3 separate regions of the Homo sapiens genome follow, and all the other regions are linked to region 2. Evidence: promoter capture Hi-C in 16 types of primary human blood cells and fetal thymus (Javierre and others, 2016). All regions are on one chromosome and are shown on one strand. The core of a region is centred on a gene start or on the middle of the fragment in contact, and the rest is flanking DNA. Distances in the headings are between cores, read along the strand shown.

Region 1 (2,700 bases), core at 66-2,565, 390 kb before region 2:
AGAAGCAGAAGAAGTGGGGCAGGGTGAGGAGAATGCCACTCCCTGAAAGAAGGAAGGCCCCAGCCACCACAAAAGAAGCCGTGTAGTTGCCTGTCACATCCCGGAGGTAGCCTAGGTCCAAGAGAGAAAAAGAATACACATGAGTGATCTATTTGCTGGGGCTGAGGGCTCAGATACATTTTTGGGTGGAGGGAAGACTTATCATCTCAGAGGAGTTGGAACTCCCATGGAATAGTTGGATAAACTTAAGAACTCTGGTTTCCCAAAAGGGCCTCAAAAGTTAATTTCAACCACCTCCCCGCCTTCAGAAAGGACCTCCAAACCAGCCTGCAGGGATTTGGAGATCCAGATTGAGTCAGGCATACTTGTGCCTTTCTTTCTGGCAACTGTGGCCTTTCTTTTTTTTTTTTTTTTGAGACGGAGTCTCGCTCTGTCGCCCAGGCTGAAGTGCAGTGGCGCGATCTCAGCTCACTGCAAGCTCCGCCTCCCGGGTTCATGCCATTCTCCTGCCTCAGCCTCCTGAGTAGCTGGGACTACAGGCGCCCACCAACTGTGGCCTTTCTAAAGCTTCAGTTAATGGGTAAGAGGAGATAAAGGTCTGAAAGTTCTGGCACCCTGAGCCAGCAGAACTTTGACCAGGTGCCTCAGATACCTGGTTTGGGGCCCAGTAGGCCAAAGGAAAGGGTGCACACTGGAATGCTACGTCTGTGTCTGGCCAGGTTCTGCCAGGTCCTCTGCAAACCCAAGCCGTAGGCACCCTGCCAAGGGTTCCACTTAGCTTCTTTTTGTCTTTCCACTCAGACTTTCCCAGCCCCAAGTTCTTTGCCCCATGGACCCATTTCAGGGATGCTATGGTTGGCCACGCAGGCTGTGTACTGTACTACACCAGAGGGCAATATTCACATACACTGTAATGAGAATAGTACCCTCCCCTAGTTGTGCAACATGGCAGCCCTCACCCCCTGGGAACCCCATTCCACTTACCTGAGAGAGGAGGCCCCAGCAGCCCCCCGATGCTCTCTATCATCTGCAACAGTCCCAGGCCACAGTAAATCCTTCTAGTCCCTATTAGTTCAGGCAGCACGGAGAAGGCCAGTGGGGCCAGAGCCCCTGATGTGAAGCCGTAGGCCACAGCCAGAGCCACCAGGGCTGTGGGAGCCTGAGCTACAGGGAACAGGGCTAGTGACACCCCAGTCAAGGTGGTCCAGAGCATCAGGAGTCGTGTCACAGGCCCTGGGACTGCATCTCCCAGCCATCCGGAGACCACACGCCCCACGAGGTCAGAAATAGCAACAACTGAGAGTAGGAAGGCAGCAGGTAGTGGGTCCCAATCCAGGTCCTGGAGATGGGCCACCAGGTGGAGGTAGGGAATGAAGTAGCCAGTGTTGATCAGGGTGAGGGCAACAGTGTAACGGAGGAAGGGGCCATGATGGAGGAGAGAGGTGAGTTGGGCCCTGGGACCACCCACAGCAGGGTCCTCAGCCAGGGAGGGTGGGCGGAGGAGAGCACCACAGGCCACTAGGTGGAGGGAGAGGGCAGACACCAGCAGCAGGGACCCCCTCCAGGCGTAGTGGCTGAGCAGCCACTGGAAAAAGGGGGCAAATGTGAAGGAGGAGAGGCCCACGCCTGTCAGTGCCAGCCCGGTGGCCAGGGATCGTCGGCGAGAGAAATAACAGGACAGGCAGGCCAGGGTCGGAGCGAAGGTCAAAGCCCAGCCAGAGCCTGTCAAAAAGGAAGAAGTGGTGTTGAGAACTCTTAGGGAGCTCAAGGCACACAGTAATCCCCGCATTGCCCAGCAGCAGAATGTAGCACTTGCTTCGGAGTCCCACAGACCTGGGATACAATCTTGGCTTGGATACTTCATAGCTGTGTAACCTTGTGTGTTTTACTTAACACCCCCAGCCTCAACCTTCTCAACTGCAAAATGTAATAATACACTTTTTGGGATTGTGGAAGATTAGAGACAAAGTTTGTAAGGTAACTAGCACAGAACTTTGGAGTTAGACCTGGGCTCTACCATTTCTAGCTGTGTGACCTTCATTTGCCAAGTTGTATAAGCTTTAAAGCTTTTCCCCAGCTGTAAATCCAATAATGATATCGATTTCACAGTCACAGTACCTAGCACCTTTTTTTTTCTTTTTTTTTTTTGAGACGGAGTCTCGCTCTGTCGCCCAGGCTGGAGTGCAGTGGTGCAATCTCGGCTCACTGCAAGCTCTGCTTCCCGGGTTCACACCATTCTCCTGCCTCAGCCTCCCGAGTAGCTGGGACTACAGTCACCTGCCACCACGCCCAGCTAATTTTTTGTGTTTTTAGTAGAGACGTGATTTCACCGTGTTAGCCAGGATGGTCTTGATCTCCTGACCTCGTGATCCGCCCGCCTCGGCCTCCCAAAGTGCTGGGATTACAGGCGTGAGCCACCGTGCCTGGCCCCTAGCACCATTTTATAGTAATTCTTCCTTTTACACTCCAGTCCCATTAGCCCTGGGCTTCTGGGCTTGTATACTTGGTTTCATCTTTTTTTTTTTTTTTTTTGAGACAGAATCTTGCTCTGTCGCCCAGGCTGGAGTGCAGTGGTGCGATCTTGGCTCACTGCAACCTCCGCCTCCCGGGTTCAAGCGATTCTCCTGCCTCAGCCTCCCGAGTAACTGGGATTAGCGCCACCAGGCCCGGCTAATTTTTGTATTTTTGTAGAGACGGGGT
Region 2 (2,700 bases), core at 7-2,506:
TGCTGGTGGGTTTACTGTCATTTTTAACCACATCTAACCTACCTTAAAAAAGTGTATGGATGGGGGTGCCAGGTACAAAGACTTAGCATAAAGAAAACGACCATTTACTTTGAAACATAAACAAAGGCCAATTAATAATTTATGAGTCTGTTCCTTGTCCCTCGAGTTTTTAGCAGGCATGGAATCATTCCACAGGTCATTATTTCAGTTTGGTCTCTGTTCCTAAGGGGTGAAGGTTTTCTGAGGGCTGTGGATCCCAAACTCACCTGGCTCAGAGGCTCAAACAGCCTCTCTTTGTCCATCAACCCGATTTAGACAGCATCCTGGGCCTGAAAACCTTCTGTGCTGGCTTCAAGTGAAAATAGTTCACTGGGTCAAAAGTAGGCTGGTCCAAGACGCAGGACGGTCAGTAAACGTTGGCTGTGTTCAGAAACTGCGGCTTGGCTGTTTCTTACATTGATTTATGGTTTGTTTCCATGAAACCGAAAATGATTGGTCCACCTGGCAGCTGGCTGGCTGGCTGGCAACTGGAGGCCTTTCTGTCCTGGCTGAGGGCCCTGGCCCCTTGGTGGCCTTTGGGAAGCAGCATCTCATCGGGCCGTTTTTTCGTTCTGGCGGGCGGCCGGCTTGGCCCGCGGGGTCGGGCTCTCCGCGCAGTGCAGAGACGTCTCCACCCTCAGGGACGAGGCTCTGACGTGGCGGGAGGTCGTTTCCGTGCGCTGCGAGGAGGATTCCACGTGCCGGGAGGACGCCTCGAGGATGCGAGGGAGCCGCTTCCCCGAGGGGGAGAGGGAGGGCCCCTCGCTGCGGCGCTGGGAGGTCTCCACCCGCCGGGACGACGTCTCCACGCGGTGGGACGAGGTCTCCACGCGGACCGTGGACGTCTCTGTGTAGCGGGTGGTCCCCACCCGGGGCGAAGACTGCTTGGCCCCTCGGGCTGAGGCCATTCTGCCGGCGTGAGGGGGCCAGGGAGGCCTCGGGGCACCCTACAGCCCAATGGTCACCGCAGGCAGAAGAGAGGAAAACTACGGTACTGCCATAGCCGGGAGCGCCACAACACGATGACGTGGAAGCACCATGGTCCTTCGAAGGCTAAAACACTGGACTCCTGCCCCTCAGGCGCTCCCACGGCCCGGGCCCCGCCCCCTCGCTATTTTGGAGCCAGCGCGGGTGGAGCCATCCCAGGGCTGGTCGGGGATGGGCGGAGCCGCCCCGCCCCATATCCCACAGTGCCCCGGGACCGGAAGAGGGAGCCGTGGTTTCCGGAACTTCGCCCGCGTCTCTGGGCTTTTGCTCTGTCAGGCTGGTGGCGTTTTGGTGTCTTCGTTTGTTATGGCCGCTGCTGTCGCTATGGAGACAGGTGAGTAGCTCTCTGATCTTGGAGTCTTCGCAGATGGAACTCTCCTTGACCCAGACCTCTTCCCCGTGGCCTCCTTCCAGGCCTTACTCTTGGCAGGGTTAATATTTGGACAGAGAGGAGAGAAGGCTCTTGTAGCGTCTAGAAAGACTAAGGTACTCTTTGCAGTTTTCCTGATTTGGTTTGTTCGCACATCTTTGCTATTCAGACACCACCCCACCAGCTCCCTGGCGTGGGTGAGACTAAGGGAGAGGACTTGTGTGTTAAACCGTGTCCTCCTTGATTGGTTTTCTGCTTCTCACATGAGCTTGCCTAAGTTTGAAATATCGTCGCCAGACTTGTGTATCATTCTGCTACTGGTGCTTCTTTTTTTTTTTTTTTTTGAGACAGCGTCTGGCTCTGTCGCCCAGGCTGGGGTGCAGTGGCGCGATCTCGGCTCACTGCAAGCTCCGCCTCCTGGGTTCACGCCATTCTCCTGCCTCAGCCTCTCAAGTAGCTGGGACTACAGGAGCCCGCCACCGCTCCCGGCTAATTTTTTTTGTATTTTTAGTAGAGACGGGGTTTCACTGTGTTAGCCAGGATGGTCTCGATCTCCTGACCCTGGTGCTTCTTATATGCATGCGCTGCATGATCTTTTAGGCTCTCCGCAGTCTCTTGCATCCTAAGTTTTTCTTTACTGATTCAGCCCCTAGCGTTTGCGAAACTTAATCACTGTTAACAGTTGTTACAACGCATTATTAAAATAGGGGAAGCCACAGTTATTACAGCCTACCTTAGTGATCACTGTTAAAATTCCTACATAGTGGCCCACGAGTGGTAGGAATTCTCCGTTTGTGTTGCTGTTTTCTTTGATGATTTCTCTTTAACTTTAGAGAAACTTCTAACTTACTCCTTTTAATCAGGGCTCCGCTTTTCTTAGATTTCGAAGGAAGGTTTATCTCCTCCCACTCCTAGTTTAGGAAGACCATCTCAACATTAGTCAGGTTTCTTTATTGCTCTTTCCTTACTACAAATCAGTATTATATACAGTGACCTTTGTTTTCCATGATTTTTGCTGTCTTGTCTCCTAGATGATGCTGGAAATCGACTTCGGTTTCAGTTGGAGTTGGAATTTGTGCAATGTTTAGCCAACCCAAATTACCTTAATTGTAAGTTGTTAAGCACCTCATTAAATTGAGTAGCTATTAATGATTTCTGACAGAAGAGTTGCAGTTCAAAATAGTATCTACTTTTACACATTCTCAGTTGAATGACATTACACTTATGCTGGTATATAGATATAATTGCGTACTGGGACTTGTGTTTTGAATCCAATGTGTGTTGGTGGTGGGGGTGTTATGTAA
Region 3 (2,700 bases), core at 171-2,670, 260 kb before region 2:
ATAGTAGTAATGAGCTGGTCATGTGGACTCAGGACCTCCTGGTTAGCCGGAGTGATGCAGGCAGTGGTAATAGCTGAGATCATAGAGCCTCCTTCTTCCTGGGTGCAATGTTATTCTACCAGGAGATGCTGTAATGGACTGTGCTGGTTGGCCTCCAGCCAGGAGGTGGTGCTTGCAAATGAACACCGGCTGCGGTAGGTGGGTGTGTGGGGGGGGGGGGGGGGGAGGGGCGTGGTGGTGGGGGCGTGGAGGGAGGAATACTCTGGTTTCACAGGCAATAGTCAGGGCCACAGAGCTCTCAAGAGATTCTGTCCTTTGTGTTAAGCTACCAGGGCAAGTGGCGGGGCAAAGCGAGATGGGGGCTGCGTCGGTCAGGTTTGTGCTCTGATTCTCCGTGTGCAGGGCAAGCAGCAGCTCCTGTGAATGTTGGGGGATGGAGTGGGTCTCAGGCCACTGGGTTGATGTTCTTCTGCCCCCGCTGCGCAGAAGAGTTTGTGCAGAGTGGGGAGTAGCAGGCAGCGGTGAGCCCCCAATTCCCATGCACTCAGTGAGGCAGATCTACTACCACAGCTTCCACTGGCAGCGGCGAGCTGAATTCCAGCCAGTCTGTAATCGGAACTTGCCACAGTTATAAGCTTTCCCCACGGGAGATCGCAATTGTGGTTTTCACGCCACACCCTTCCCTGTCCTGCAAAGCCGGCACCCGAGGTTCCTGCACCCGCGGCTTCCGCACTCACGGCCCCCTGCACTCGCAGCCCACTTTTCACTCTCCCACGCCTGGCCCTGGCCAAGGGAGTTGGTCCCCACCCAAGGTTATGTATATATATCATGAAACCCCTCGGGAGCTTCGTTCAACCTGCGACCGCCGTCTAAACTTTTTGCCTGTCCTCCACGGGGGTCCCCTGTGAGGAACAGTAAGGAACGGCTGCCCTCCTGTGTTGGGATTTGGGAGTGCACGCAAGTGTCTTCTGCCACTGCTCCTATTTTTATATTCCGCCACCCTCCCCGAGTTGGTCCCTTTGCTGGGTGGGGTTAGGGCCTTCCTCCGTGTCCTGTACTTTCAGGGTCCCTGGTGGGGGTGTGTATCCCAGAGGCAAAAACTCTTCCCCTCTCACACTCTGGGACTCACAGTCCTTCACCTGACTCACAGTGTAGACTGCAGCCTCCTGCGTCCTTCAAAGCGTCCCTGGGTTTTCCTGTTCAATGACTGCATCGCCTCTTGAAAAAAGTTCACAAAGTGAATGTCTCTACACTATTTTGTCCTTCCACGTGGGAGAGGCGTGCCAGCAATGCCTCTCATCCGCCATCTTGACAGAAACAGTTAAAAAACCTTATTGCATTTTTCAGTTCTGAAATGTTCATTTGGTTCTCCTTTATATTTTTCTATTTAGTTCCTGAGGTCTTCTACCTTTTCAACAGTGTTTGCCCCGACTTGGAGTATTTTATAACTTCTCTTCATAGTCATCTATGTCTCTTCCCATGTGAACTGAGATTTTCCTGTCTTCTTATGATGAGCAATTTTGGATTGTATCCTAATATTTTGAATGGTATGTTATGAGACAATCTTGTTTATGTCCTGTGGAGAATGCTGGTATTTTTCTGAAGCATTGACCTGGTTGAGTTCAGCCCACGAGTTCGAATGAGTCTTCCGCGGTGGTTTCAATTCTAGTTCTGTTTTCCAGGCCTTTGCAATGCTATTTGGATCTAGCCCATGCATGTGCCACCCAGTTAGGAACCTGGATGGGACCCTATCTCTGAATTCAGCTCTCAGTCTTTAGTAGTTTGGTCCGTGATCTAATCTCTGTTTGTGCAGTTTAGGAATGAGCCCCTGAGCTTATAAACAATATTTTGGGGTTTCCTTCCTGAGCTCCTCTCTCCCTGTGATCTCCTCTGTGCTTTTCAGTTTCCTGGCATTTTCCTTTTTGGTCCTTCAGCCAGAAATTTAGGGCCTAATTTAGCCTACCTTGCTGTACACTTCTTGCATCTGTGCCCTCATTCGGGGTCAAGTGATAAGAGGAAAGAGAGAGGAAAAAAAATCCACGGAGGTGTTCCCCGCGCTCTTGGGACCACACTTCTTCTGATTGGAGAGGAAGATTCCCCTTCTTCAGACTGCACGTGCTTATCGGCCCCCGCTGCTGTTGTCATTTCCAGGAGACCCCTTTATCACTCCCTTATCCCAGAACTGAGGGCTTTCCCTAAAGCTTGATCTGTCCATGCTGACTTGCACCTCTAGGTTTTAGGCTGCCTTGAAGTCAGTCTAGGAGTTCTGCAGGGAAAATCTAGTAAGCTGATTACTAGTTTTCCTTCTGCTTTCACTCCAACCCCCGTGATACTGCTGCTTCACGCATTCTGCCCAGGTCTTCATTGTTACATTCAGTGGCAGAGAGGAACCAGCATATCTGCCTTTAAAAAAATACTACAAATTATAAAGCATGCTTGTTTCAACCTGACACTGTTGCTTTTGGTTTCTTTACATATTACCACGTTCTTGGCATCTCAGATAACTTTTATAGTATTATTTTTCCTTTTCTTTCTGAGCACATTACCAAAAGTTTTTGTGAGGCAGGTCTTTCTTTAGAAGTAAATTTTCTCATTAAAAAATGATTGAAACCATTTTTTTTAGAGTTCTGCTGAGTTCACATTTCTTGGTTGACCAATAATTTTTTTCAATACACCGAAGACCTGATTCTGTTATTTTCT

Evidence for each region. Contacts are between HindIII fragments. The CHiCAGO score rates a contact against its expected background, and 5 or more counts as called.
Region 1: a fragment that was not itself captured here is called in contact with the fragment with the promoter of MED31 in region 2 in 1 of 17 cell types (fetal thymus); the score reaches 5.7 in fetal thymus.
Region 3: a fragment that was not itself captured here is called in contact with the fragment with the promoter of MED31 in region 2 in 1 of 17 cell types (erythroblasts); the score reaches 5.8 in erythroblasts.

Annotation. Positions count from the first base shown.
Region 1 is chr17:7,037,174-7,039,873 of GRCh38, reverse strand. It overlaps SLC16A13 (solute carrier family 16 member 13), which reads right to left. Exons shown (of 4, transcript NM_201566.3): 3 at 985-1,722; 4 at 1-111. Among named protein-coding and RNA genes, the nearest start is that of SLC16A13, 2.5 kb to the right of the region's middle. The HindIII fragment of the contact is 1,491 bases long and covers 570-2,060 here.
Region 2 is chr17:6,650,161-6,652,860 of GRCh38, reverse strand. It overlaps MED31 (mediator complex subunit 31), which reads left to right and starts at 1,256. Exons shown (of 4, transcript NM_016060.3): 1 at 1,256-1,360; 2 at 2,428-2,505. The coding sequence starts at 1,333. It overlaps C17orf100 (chromosome 17 open reading frame 100), which reads right to left and starts at 1,099. Exons shown (of 1, transcript NM_001105520.2): 1 at 1-1,099. The coding sequence starts at 947. The coding sequence ends at 591. RefSeq lists silencers at 732-781, 1,082-1,161 and enhancers at 1,412-1,541, 1,612-1,691, 1,782-1,841. The HindIII fragment of the contact is 11,591 bases long and covers 1-2,700 here.
Region 3 is chr17:6,912,258-6,914,957 of GRCh38, reverse strand. No RefSeq gene overlaps it. Among named protein-coding and RNA genes, the nearest start is that of TEKT1, 82 kb to the right of the region's middle. RefSeq lists an enhancer at 94-663. The HindIII fragment of the contact is 1,566 bases long and covers 638-2,203 here.